2 separate regions of the Homo sapiens genome follow, and region 2 is linked to region 1. The links are contacts of gene promoters, found by promoter capture Hi-C in human tissues and cell types (Jung and others, 2019). All regions are on one chromosome and are shown on one strand. The core of a region is centred on a gene start or on the middle of the fragment in contact, and the rest is flanking DNA. Distances in the headings are between cores, read along the strand shown. Region 1 holds the start of UGT8 (UDP glycosyltransferase 8). Region 2 has its middle 220 kb from the start of UGT8.

Region 1 (6,116 bases), core at 1,389-3,888:
AAATTCCCAGGTGTATGTTGGAAAATCCTAGTATGAATTAAAAAGCAACAAATTGATATTATTTGATAAACAGGTGCATGATTTTAAAAAGGATTTGAGGATTGAAGATGGGATTTTTAGCAATATTTAAATGGTAATGAAGCTGATAGTTGTTCATAAGGTGCAATAAAATGTTTTAATTTAAATTATTGGGAAATGTAAACTGTCAAAATCTTTAAACGAAAAGTAGTTTTTATCCAAAAAAATTGTCATAAGCATCTTTATTTACTGCATTGGTTTATTTATTCTAAGACGCGTACCAAGCTTAAATACAACAAGCATAGTCCTCTGGAAATCTTAGATTTAAAAAGAGTTTGAACCTGTATAGTAGTATTACCTGGAAAAAGTCAGAAGTATAGTTTCTGTTCAGTTATGCCCAACCTCCTAATAGAGTATCAAGCCTTTACTAAATATCGGGGCACTATGCTTTATTGTAGTTTTTAAAGACTTGTATAATACTAAGTCACACAACACTAGATGTCAACTTAACCTTGTAGGTGGCAGGCAAATCATACAATACTAGAGTGTTTTTCTCTGGCATTATCTAGAAGAGTTGCTGAACACAGACACATTCCTAAAGCAAAACCTCAAACCACCAAGAGACAGTTTCTATAGGAGAAAACTAAGCTGGCTAAGATTTAATTCAAGTAACACAAAGTTCTGGTCTCCTTTACCATATAATATTAAGATGCATGACTCTAATTTTAAAATCTCCTGGGGACAAAGTATGGTTACTCTTAACACTATTAAAATATTGGTTAAAGATAACCATTGGGTACTGGGCTTAATAACTGAGTGATGAAATAATATGTAAAACAAACCCCTGTGACATGTGTTTACCTATGTAACAACCCTTCACATGTACCCCAAAACCTAAAATAAAAGTTTTTAAAAAAGAAAAGAAAAAAGGGCACTTTCTATCCTTCCTTCAAATGGTGGTGATTTTTTTCTGGGGATATGTCAGAAGCACGCCAATTTTGAGTGAATATAGACGTTTTTGAACATGAAATTATCAGAAATGATAACAATTTGGCATCTAGCCAAACTCCCTAACATTCACGTCATTGATACTGAAAAACTGGTAGTACAAGGTGACAGCCTGAGGGGACTGAAGATTTTTGGAGTATTTGGAGTAGTGTGGTTTTTTTCTAATTTTTACCAATAGGATCCCCAGAAATAAAAGACTCTATCGTCACTGCTAACACTGGCTCATAATAAAGGTGATTCTCCAGAGCACGCCTGGTTTGATACCGCCACCCACTCCTTCCCTTGGCGACATTTTCCTGCTAAGAACGCCTAGTTAGCGCAATCCAGCCATTCGCGTTAGTTCTCAGAACTCTCTCAGAAGTTCTCTACCTTCTCTCCTCTCCCCGCCTAGATGCTGAAAGGTGATGGGAACTCGCGGTACAGGTACAGAGGCTATTCCTTTCCTAAGGAAGTGCTGCACAATGGCAGGTTTACCGTACTCAATTTTATAAACCCTCAATTAAACCAGAAAGCTTGTATATAGAGATTGGGTACCCCGCCCACCTCCTCAGATTGTCCTTTTGCCCCGACGCACTGCATCTACTTGCACTCTCCGATGCGGTTTGCCTCCTTCAAATCCAAAACACACATACCAGGCTCCCTCGCCGCTCCTCCAGTCCATGGAAGGCGCCCTTCTTTTTGCCAGCAGCGCGTCCTTCTCTCCCCGCCCGCAGGCGCTCACCTCTTCTCTAATCCCGGGGGCCCGCACAGGCTTCTCTAATGCAAGGGCACCCCGTACCATTCCCAAATCGGCGCGGGGACCCGTGAAACCCTGCCACCACTGTACACTGTCCATTGTCGAGAGTCGCGCGGGCACGCGGAAACGGCGGGCCCCGAAAAGTCTCAGCGAGCTTGTACAGCCCCAAGACATTCCCCACCCCCAACACATCCCGCTCTTGTTCCTCCTTAGGGGGAAGACGGAGTAAAGGGGAGTTGAAGAGGTCCCGAAGCTCCTCCTGGTCCCCCACCTCCATCCCTGCCCTGGCAGCTGGCTCTGGCCTCTGGGCTCCGCGGTGCCCATCCCTTCAGGGGTCAAGTACAAGGTCCTCGGCCGAATCGCCTCCCCGTTATACCCTCCCTCTGCCTTGAGCGCACAAACGCGAGAGAACCCTCGAACGGATGCCATATGGCAGAAACAGGATCGCGGGCGCTATGAGGGGCCAGCCTAAAAAGATCTCCTTCACACCCCCTCAACCCCTAGCCTTTCTCCCTACCCCGCCAACCCCCACTAACCACTTCTAACTTCCTCAGCCCAACCCTGTCTGTGCTTTCTAATTCCCACCCCCCCGCCCCTGGACAGCAGCCATTCGCCCGGCACTCACCTCAGGGAGCAAACAACGCCCCTCTCCTCCACCCAGACCGCCCCCCCTTCCGCCCTCTGGAACGGCGTGGTCCCTCCGCTCACCTCGTCTCTTGGCTGCCCCGCGCGAGTTTGAGTGTGTGTCTGCCGCGTAATTGTATCCGGGACAGAAGGGACCTGTGTTTGTGCGCTGAATCAGGTGTCGCCGCCTTCGGTGGTTCGGGGGCGTAAGGGAGGCTTCGGAGTTAGCGTGTTGGCTAAGGAGGGCTCTCTGGGTTCACAGTTGATAGCAATGCTTTAACCGTGTCCTCCCTCGGGTCCTCAGCGCGCCTGCTCGTCCGCAGCTCCCAGCGGGCGGCCAGGCCCCCCGCCCCCCAGCCGCGCCCCGCCCTGCGTGCGGCGAGCAGAGTCGGAGCGCGCCGCTGCCCTTCCGCACTTGGCTCAGCGGGGCACGACACGGGCCGCCACGCGCTCAGCCTAGCATCACTCGCCTCTGACTGCGAGCGCCTCCAGCTCCCCGGGCTGGGGCATGGATGCAGACGCGCCTTCGTACCACGCGCTCGCAGGCTGGGCAAGGGGCAGCGCGTTGGGATCCGGCCAGTCGTCCGCTGAGCGAGGTTGGCTTGCAGGCTGGGACTTTTCGCGAGCCCTCTGGGCGCTCGAGTTGCGAACTCTGACAACGGCACGTGGCCCCGCCCACTCTTCCCTCTTTGCGAGGCGTGTCCCGCGCCCTTTCTGCCACCACCCACGTAGTCCCTGTGCCCGCCTTTTATCATCAAGGCGGCTCAGTGAGCTCTGCGTGTTGATGTCGCGCCTTTTCTCATCTTCCTGCCTTTCCTGCCTCACTTCTGCTGAATCCATTCAAAAGTTATACTTGGGCAAGTGGGTGGAGGAGTTAGGAAAATTAAAAGAGGGATGCTTAGGTGAGCAGGTACCTGCACTGCCGCCAACCCAGGCTTCAATTCTGGCTCTCTTGTAGCGGAAAGCCTTAAAAAACGCGAGTTTGGGGATCCTGAAAAAAAGTAAATAGGGTTGCTGGGCTGAATAACATCCCTCCTCTCAGGCTCCTGCTGAAAGGGCCATTCATGATTTGCCTGGTTGAGCCTGTGGCGACTTTATTCTGACGAATCTGCCTTTGCCAGCAGCATAACCTTGCCAAGTTGGCGTCTTGACCAGCAAGCAACTGTGCCCAAGGAAGCCTCTCTGTGGTGCCTCAGACCTGAGAGGCCGAGTGCCTTTGAGCGCCTGAGGTAGATTGTGAGTTTCATGAAAACCGAGAAAGTCTAAGTGTGCATGTGCGTAAGATATTTTATATATATATATCTCATATATATATGAGATATGTCTATATAACGTGGACTGAATTGTTTATTGTTTATGTTTCGTGTCGAGCATAAATTCCAGAAGCTAAGATGCTTCCATAGCACACAAACGTTATGCGTTTAAACGTTGGAAATCAAAAATGCCATGTCAGGTCATTCTGTCCTTGTTCCAAAGTGAGATTCAGAAATAGGTTGGGATTTTCTGCCCTTAGATAAGAAAACGGAAATTATATTTTACTGTATATGTTATCAGTTAATGATAAATTAAAAAACTAATATACACTGCTGTTATTGTAAAATCCATATGCTCAAGAATGTTCATGGATGGAGAGATCTTCAAATGCCATTTCAAAAAAGAAAATGCACTTTTCTTCTTTGCAGATTAGGAATTTGAACATATTCCCTGTGCAAAATGCAGGGAATATTTTCACAGCCTTTGTACCTGATTACCATACTCTCTATTTATTTCTTATTTAAATTGCACTAGAAAACCTAAAGTAAATGAAATGTAACATAATAAAGAAAAGAGAATTTAGACATTTACTTTAAAAGCTTTATTTCTCAAAGGTCAAGCTTCAGTTTCAAGCTACTGTTTGATGATGCATATGTAAATTCTTGGTAAAAACTTGATCATTAGCAATTAAAACAACTTTTTTCTTTTATTATATAAAAATGTTTAAAATTGTTTCACCACATCCTTGTCCTTAAAATGGTGTAAACTGACCATTGTGTAAGGTTTTTGTCAGATTTTTGGATAGAAAAGGAGTATATATTATGTGTAGATATGTCCATGTTTATTGTTTCTCTAATCTATCTATTTTTGTCCACATTAAATACTGATTATTGAATTTCTCACAGCTCTACACAGTAAGGGTGTTCCATAATGTAAAACAAGTTTATTCAATCATCATATGAATAGTTGAAATACACTTTTGGAGTTTGAAATGATAAAAGCAAGAAATCAGTGAGGTTCATTTCACCGCCCCACCCCACTTTTCCTTTTTTTAATGCTCCCACCTTTAATTGTTAACATTATTGGCTAAGTGGTTGAATAAATGAATAATGAAAACATTTGCTACTTCTCTTTAAGGAAGGATGCATATTTTCCATATTTAATGTATCCTTCAAGCTCCCATTCAGATTAAACAAGATTCTCCCTATCATCTTTAGTTTATAGAATGTTGAATGGGACAGCATAGCCTGCAGTGAGAAAGTTTCAGCCAATGTGGAGTATGGTATTAAAATTCCCTCATTATTTCTGTGGACTATATATATCAGTATTCTCAATTGTTATTTTTTTCAGAAATACTTGTTATAATTATTCACCCCATATAACTTTATTGGAAAATATAAACAACCATATGTGAGATATTATATAAGTTTTGTAATCATTCACCATTAACTCTGGGATCAGACTTCCTAGAATTTGAAGAAGAAATTAATGAAATCAAACGTAACTTAATAGTAGTAGTAATAGAAATTTTAAAATCCTCTTAAAGTTTCTGCAAAGTGTGATCCCTGCCCCCTTACACTCAAGTTAAAGGAGAATGTTAACAGCCTGTCCTGTCTCTGTGGACAGTGGACCTTATCTATACTCCCCAACTCCAAATTACTCAAGTTTATTACAGGCCAGCAAGCTCCTGCACAGCTGCAGTCACAAGACCAATAAGTTTAGGTTGCAAGACATGTTTTTCTCAAGATGTAAGAAATGTTGTAATGCTTGATTAACTGCCTTTGTTTCTCGCTTCTGTAACTTGCTTCCCACCTCATGTAGTTCCTGCCTTAAAATGTTTAAAAGTAGGAAAAGCCCTTAGTTTGGGGCTCATACTTTCTGGACATATGTCCGGCTGGGCCGGTGATCACCTTAATAGACTCTCCTGAACCTTTTTCAGTCTCTCCAGTCTTTGATTGTCTTGTAACATTTCTGGGGGCTCATCCGGGATTGGAGAGGGAACATTTTCTGTCTCCTTTGCCTGTGGGCTACAGCCCCAGGACATGGGAGATCTGGGGTCCTTGGCACCACCAGGAGAGTTTCAGCCCAGAAGGAGAACTGCCCTCCCGCGTTCTGGGGCCTTCCCCCGACAGCACAAATGGAACCAGTGGAAGGGGTTGCAGGATGGTCACGGGAGCAGCGCACAGCCATCTGAACCACGGTAAAGTTTGGGCCCTAAGGCAAGACCCGTCCCATAAGGACGGAAGGGGAGCCTGATCATCTCCCAGGGCATGATGACTGATCTGACCCGAGGGGGTTGGGACAATGGGAGAGGCCCATTGATTCAGACAAAACTCACGCCCTAACCGACACCAGATGCAGGTGGGGCTCGCACGTCAGTCAGAAAGGAAAACAGTTTCAGGGACGGGGGAGGTGTGTGAGACAGTCTCAGGAGAGACCAATGCGGGGTGTGACATGGGGAGGCACAGATCTCTTA
Region 2 (6,525 bases), core at 59-2,558, 220 kb after region 1:
TCTTTTGACTACCACATTTTAAACTGAACCTCCATTAAAACCACAAAGAGACATTTCTTTGAAAATGATTTTAAAAAAAGGATTTAAAAAACTAGATAATCTCTTTAGGGGATACTTTCTCCCAAAAAAGTGTTAAAGTTCTGAATGTGTAGGTTGCCTTTCACTAATAAGTGAAGACATACAAATAGAAAATACTTTCCCATTGACCAATGAGTAGATTAATAAGAACCCATGTGGGTTATTTCTTCTGGAATAATGCCTAATAAGGCTGTCAAAGTTACACTGGTGTCTTAATCCATTTTATGTTGCTATATAACAGAACACTTGAAGCTGGGTAATTTATAAAGAATAGAGGCCATGTGTGGTGGCTCACGCCAGTAATCCCAGCACTTTGGGAGGCCGAGGCGGGTGGATCACGAGGTCAGGAGTTCAAGACCAGCCTGGCTGAGATGGTGAAACCTTGTCTTTACTAAAAATACAAAAAATTAGCCGGACATGGTGTTGGATGCCTGTAATCCCAGCTACTCGGGAGGCTGAGGCAGATAATTGCCTGAACTCAGGAGGCGGAAGTTGCAGTGAGCCGAGATTGCGCCACTGCACTCCAGCCTGGGCGACAGAGCGAGACTCCATCTCAAAAAAAAAAAAAATGAAATTTATCGCTTATAGTTCTAAAGGCTGGAAAGTCCAAGGTCAAGGGGCCTTCATCTGGCTAGGGCCTTCATCATCTCGTGACGTGGCATCATCTCATGGTAGAATGCAGAAGAGCAAGAAGGCGTGTGTGTGTGTATGTGTATGTGTGTGTGTGTGAGAGAGAGAGAGAGAGGAATGGTGCTGAACTCATTTTTTAAAAAATCAGGAACCCACTCCCAACATAACAAACTCATTCCCTTAATAATTGCGTTAATCTATTCATGAAGGCAGAGTTCTCATTACTTAATCACCTCTTAAAGGTCCCACGTCTCACTCAACATTGTTGCATTGGGGATTAAGTTTCCAACACATGAACTTTGTAGGACACATTCAAACCTTAGACCCACGACCTCTCCAGTAAAACGTAATCAGGCATAAAATAATCAAGATTCCCTTGGGACCTACCTGCAAAAATTTAACTCTCAACACTTCAGATAAGTTTAGTCCAGTATTTTATTTTAAAGAATGAATTTTTTGAAGCACTCTTTTAGGATATAATTTTAATCCAAAAACTTTTCTAAAAGTTGAGTATGTTTGTAAGTTTGTTTGGCTCCCACTCTCATCTCTGATATTTTCTCTTGAGCAGCTAATTAAAATCCCAGAAAAGTCATCCCCCAGCCAATCCGTTGTTTCTTCACATCTATGGAAGATATGACATACATGCCTGACTAGGGTGCCCTAGAGCTTTGCTGTTTAAAGTGTGGTCTATGATCAAGAGTTGCTGACTAGAAATGCAGACTCTTAAGCCACACCTCTGACATTCTGTATCAGAATATGTATTTTTATCTTAATAAAAATAGGATGGATTTATTTCTGGGTCCTCTATTCTGTTCTGTTGTCTCTGTTTTTATACCAATACCATACTATTTTGGTTATTTTTGCTTTGTAGTAATGATAATAATATTTTAATAATAATGTTTTCAGGTAATATTAATACATAATATAATAAAGCGATATTAATAATAATTATTTAATATTTTAAAGTCAGTAGTGTGCTGCCTCCAGTTTTGTTCTTTTTTGTTGTTGTTGTTCAAGTTTGTTTTGGCTATTTCAGGTCTTTGTGATTCCATATACACATTAGATTTCTTTTTCAATTTCTGTGAAAAATATCATTGATATTTTAATGGGGATTGCACTGAATCTGTAGATTACTTTCGGTAATATGAACATTTTAACAATATTAATTATTCCAGTCCATGAACATGAAATTTATCTTTCAATTTATTTGTGTTCTTTTCAATTTATTTCATCAACATTTTAAAATTTTCTTTGAGGAGCTCTTTTACCCTCTCGGTTAAATTTATCCCTAGCCATTTCTTGTTTTGTAGCCATTGCTAGTTGCATTGCTGTCTTGATTTCTTTTTCAGATAGCCTGCTGTTGGCATGTAGAAACACTACTGATTTGTGCATTTATAGCAAACTGATTTTCAACATAGGTGCAAAAAACACACATTGGGGAAAGGATGGTCTTCTCAATAAATGATGCTGAGAAAACTGCACATCCATATCTAAAAGAACAAAGCTAGACATATATCTCTCACCACAAAAATCAATTGAAAATTGATTAAAGACTTAAATATAAGACCCAAAACTATAAAACTACTCAAAGAAAACAGGGAAAACACTTCATGACATTGCTTTGGATAAAAGTGCTTAATAAGACCTCAAAATCATAGGGACAGAAACGCAAAAATAGACAAATGGGATTATATCAAAATAAAAGCTCCTACACAGCAAAGGAAATAATCAAAGCGTCAAGAGACAACATGCAGAATGGGAGAAAATATTTACAAAATATGCATCCGACAAGGGCTAATATCCAGAATATATAAGGAACTCAAACAACTCAATAGTGAAAAGCCAAATAATCTGATTTAAAAATGAGCATGAGATACAAATAGACATTTCTCAAAAGAAGTCATACAAGTGGCCAACAGTTATGTAAAAATGCTCAACATCTTTGATTATCAGAGAAATGCAAATCAAAACCACAATGAGCTATTACTTCAACCTAGTTTTAATGGCTACTATGAAAAAAGACAAGAAAATAACAAATGCTGGTGAGGGTGTGGAGAAAGGAGAACTCCTACACAGTGTTGATGGAGGTGTAAAGGAGTATAGCCATTATGGACAACAGTATAAAGGTTCCTCAAAAAATTTAAAATGAAGCTACCATATGATCCAATAATTTTACTACTGGGTATATAGCCAACGGAAATGGAATTAGTATGTCAAAAAGACATCTGCATTTTCATGTTTATTGCACTGCTATTTACAATCCCAAGATATGGAATCAACCTAAGTGTTTCTCAACAGATGAATGTGTTAAATAAATGTGATACACGATGGGATACTATTCAGCCACAAAAATAACAAAATCTTGTCATTTACAAAAACATGGGGGACCTAGAGGACATTATGTTAAGTGAAATAAGGCAAACAAAGAAGGATAAATAGTGCACGATCTCATTCATATGTGGAATCTAAAACACTTGATGTCATAGGAGTAGAGAGTAGAATAGTGGTTACCAGGGACTGGGGAGAGTGCAGAGTGAGGGTATAGAAATAAATTAGTTAAAACAAAATTACAGTTAGATAGAAGGAATAAGTTCTGGTGTTCTATTGCACAGTAGAGTGATAACAATAAAAAAGTAATGTATTGTATACTTTAAAATAGCTAAAAGAGATGACTTTGAGTGTTCTCACAACAAAGAAATGACAAGAGGCTGAGGTGACGGATATTGCTTACTACCCTGATACAATGTATATATATGTTTATATATATATACACATACACATATATATAAACATCACAGTGTACCCCATAAGTCATACAATTATTACAAGCCAATTAAACACAAAATAAAACTTATTTGACAAACAGAAATGTCCCTTTGGTTTTTCACTTTAACGTTTGAGAAATAATCCTCTTGATTTTGTTTTTTTGTTGTTAATCTTTAATGCAGTGGTTCTAGCCCTATTTGCACATTACAATTACCTTGGGAAACTTCTGAAATTTCCAGTCCTGATGCCTAGGCCATACACCTGATTACATCAGAATTATTGGAGGTGAGTCCAGCCATCACTGTATTTTTAAAGTTCCCAGGTGATTACAATGTGCCACCAAGTATGAATCAGAATCACTTGATGAGCTTGTGAAAACACAGATTTGGGACCTCGATGTCCAGTTTCTAATGTATTAGGTAATGGTTGGGGTATAATATGTTATATTTTTAACAACTTCCAAATTGCTGCTGCTCTAATGACCGTGCTATGAGAACCACCAATTTAGAGGGTGTGATTTGAGGGTGAAATTTTAAAAAATTATTGTCCAGGAAAAAAATGTTACTCTATTTCCAGCTAACACCTTGATATTACCTTATAAAAATTAATGAATTTACTATTTATATCTTTACTCTGAAACCTACGTCTCTACTATGCTTCAGAAATCCAGTCATAGAGCTATACCATAGATTTTTCAGCACCCAGAACAGTTCCATTTTTAAAAAGTCACTTTCTACTAGATAACTACACCTGAACAGAACACTACTTAATAACTCTTGCCAATGTGTTCCTCCTGCTAGTTTTTTATCTCACTAAATGACATCACCATTTACCCAAGATATCTAGTCTATCATGTCCCACAGTTATCTGTGATTCTTTTTTCTCTTATGTACAGTATTTCAACAAGTTGTACTGATCACTTTTCTGAAACCCTCTTAATTATATTTCCTCTTCTCCTTATTAACAGAGCAACCAGCTCAGTCTGTCTCTTTTTAGATTATCCTCATCTCCTTACCCCGTCCTTACCCAGTCAGTCGTTGACTGAACTGCTGAAAGACAAACTGCTTGTCACCCACAAATCTTGTCCTCATACTTAAAAATGTCAGTATTTTTTCATGACCCATAAAATAAAGTCCAAAAGTAATATGACATTCAGAATAATCCCACAATCTGAACCCTAAGTCTACTTTTTCAATCTATTCCCCACAAATGTTCTTCATAAGCCTGCTGAATTTTCAAACCACTAAATTTCTCATTGTTCCATGAAGATGCTATTTTCATTCCTTTGCATATATACAAGCAACAAAAATATATACATGTTATATATACATATTATATAGAATATATAGAACTAGAAAACCCTTTATTGTTACTCTTCTTTCAAAATTCAACTCATCTTCAAGACTCAGATCTCACATTCTTTTAATGCAAAGTCTTCCTCAATACTCTCCAGAAGAATTAACAACTCAATCCCTTTCACATGTTTTGTTGTTTTGAGACAGGCTTTTGCTCTGTCACCCAGGCTGGAGTGCAGTGGCACGATCATGGCTCGTTGCAGCCTTGACCTCACCCAAGCGATTCTCCTGACTCAGCCTTCCAAGTAGCTGGGACCACAGGCGTACACCACCACACCCGACTAATTGTTTATTTTTGTAGATACGGGGTCTCCCTACGGAGCCCAGGCTGGCCTTAAACTCCTGGGCTCAAGCAATCCTCTGGCATTGGCCTCCCAAATTGCTGGGATTATAGGCATGAGCCACTGCACCATGCCCCAGGTTACTGTTTAACATTATCCTAATGTTAGTTTTACATCAATATGTCTTGCCTCACTCATGATAGTATCCTCTAGAGCATTTAGCAGTATCTGGCACTCAATGAAACTGTTGAATTGGTTATTATTTGTGATAGAATCATCATCAAATCTTAATTCTCTATCGCTCAAGATTTTTACTATGCCCCTTTTCAAACATGTATGCCAGAAAGCAGAATCAGGAAAACTTATTTGTGTGATGTAGGTGGGAAATTGTTTTTTTCCACTAGAGTTCATATGGGTTAAGAAATTCTGATAACATCACTATAGGTTACCTCAGGATTTTTATAAGATAATAAATTCCAAGCCATCAATCGGGATTCTGAAGCCATATTTTTGTCCTTCTTTTATGAGAGAAGAGTTGTGTAAGAAAATAATTAAAAAAAATTTTCTCATTAGGCAACAGCCATATTCTTATAAGCATTCAAAATAATAAAAACAATAATCTGGCTTTAATCAATTTCAAATACTGCTCTTTAAAATACATTTTCACATCAACATTGAAATTAAGAGAGGAAATTTTTCTAATTTTCCTGTTGAGCAAATGAGGACAAAGAGAAACTAAATACAGTTGATCCTTGAATAATGTAGAGAATAGGAACAACGACTTCTTGGGCAATTGAAAATTCACATATATCTTGGGTTTCACTTTGTTGTTCAGGCTGGAGTGCAGTGGCGTGATCTTATCTCACTGCAGCCTTGAACTCCCTCAAGTGATCCTCCTGTCTGTAGCCTCTCAGCCAGGACTATAGGCCACCACACCTAGCTAATTTTTATTTTCAAATTTTTGGTAGAGATGGGGATCTTACTATGCTGCCCAGGCTGGTTTTGAACTCTTGGCCTCAAGCGATCCTCCTTCCCTTGGCCACCCAAATTGCTGAGATGACAGATGTTAGACACCAGCTCCACATATAACTTTTGATTGCACCACACCTTAAATATTAATAGTTTATTGTTGACTGGAAGCCTTACCAATAACATAAGCAGAAGATTAACACCTATTTTATATGTTATGCATAGTGTATTATATACTGTATTCTTACACTAAAATAAGCTAGAGAAAAGAAAATGTTATAAGAAAACCACAAGGAAGAAAAAATATATTTACTAAGTGGAAGTGGATCATCATAAAAATCTTCATCCTTGTTTCTTCAGATTGAGTAGACAGAGAAGGAGGAGGAGGAGGAAGGAGAGGGGTTGAGTTGGTCTTGCTCTCTCAGGCGTACTAGGGGCAGAAGAAA

The links. The method cuts DNA at HindIII sites, captures the fragments that hold promoters and counts their contacts. A contact is called where the count stands out against the background at its distance.
Region 2: a contact is called between a fragment that was not itself captured here and the fragment with the promoter of UGT8 in region 1, in 1 of the 25 tissues and cell types used here (heart left ventricle).

What each region holds. Positions count from the first base shown.
Region 1 is chr4:114,595,329-114,601,444 of GRCh38, reverse strand. UGT8 (UDP glycosyltransferase 8) reads right to left here and starts at 2,638. Exons shown (of 6, transcript NM_001128174.3): 1 at 2,471-2,638. The HindIII fragment of the contact is 5,100 bases long and covers 922-6,021 here.
Region 2 is chr4:114,371,365-114,377,889 of GRCh38, reverse strand. No RefSeq gene overlaps it. Among named protein-coding and RNA genes, the nearest start is that of UGT8, 220 kb to the left of the region's middle. The HindIII fragment of the contact is 4,313 bases long and covers 1-3,464 here.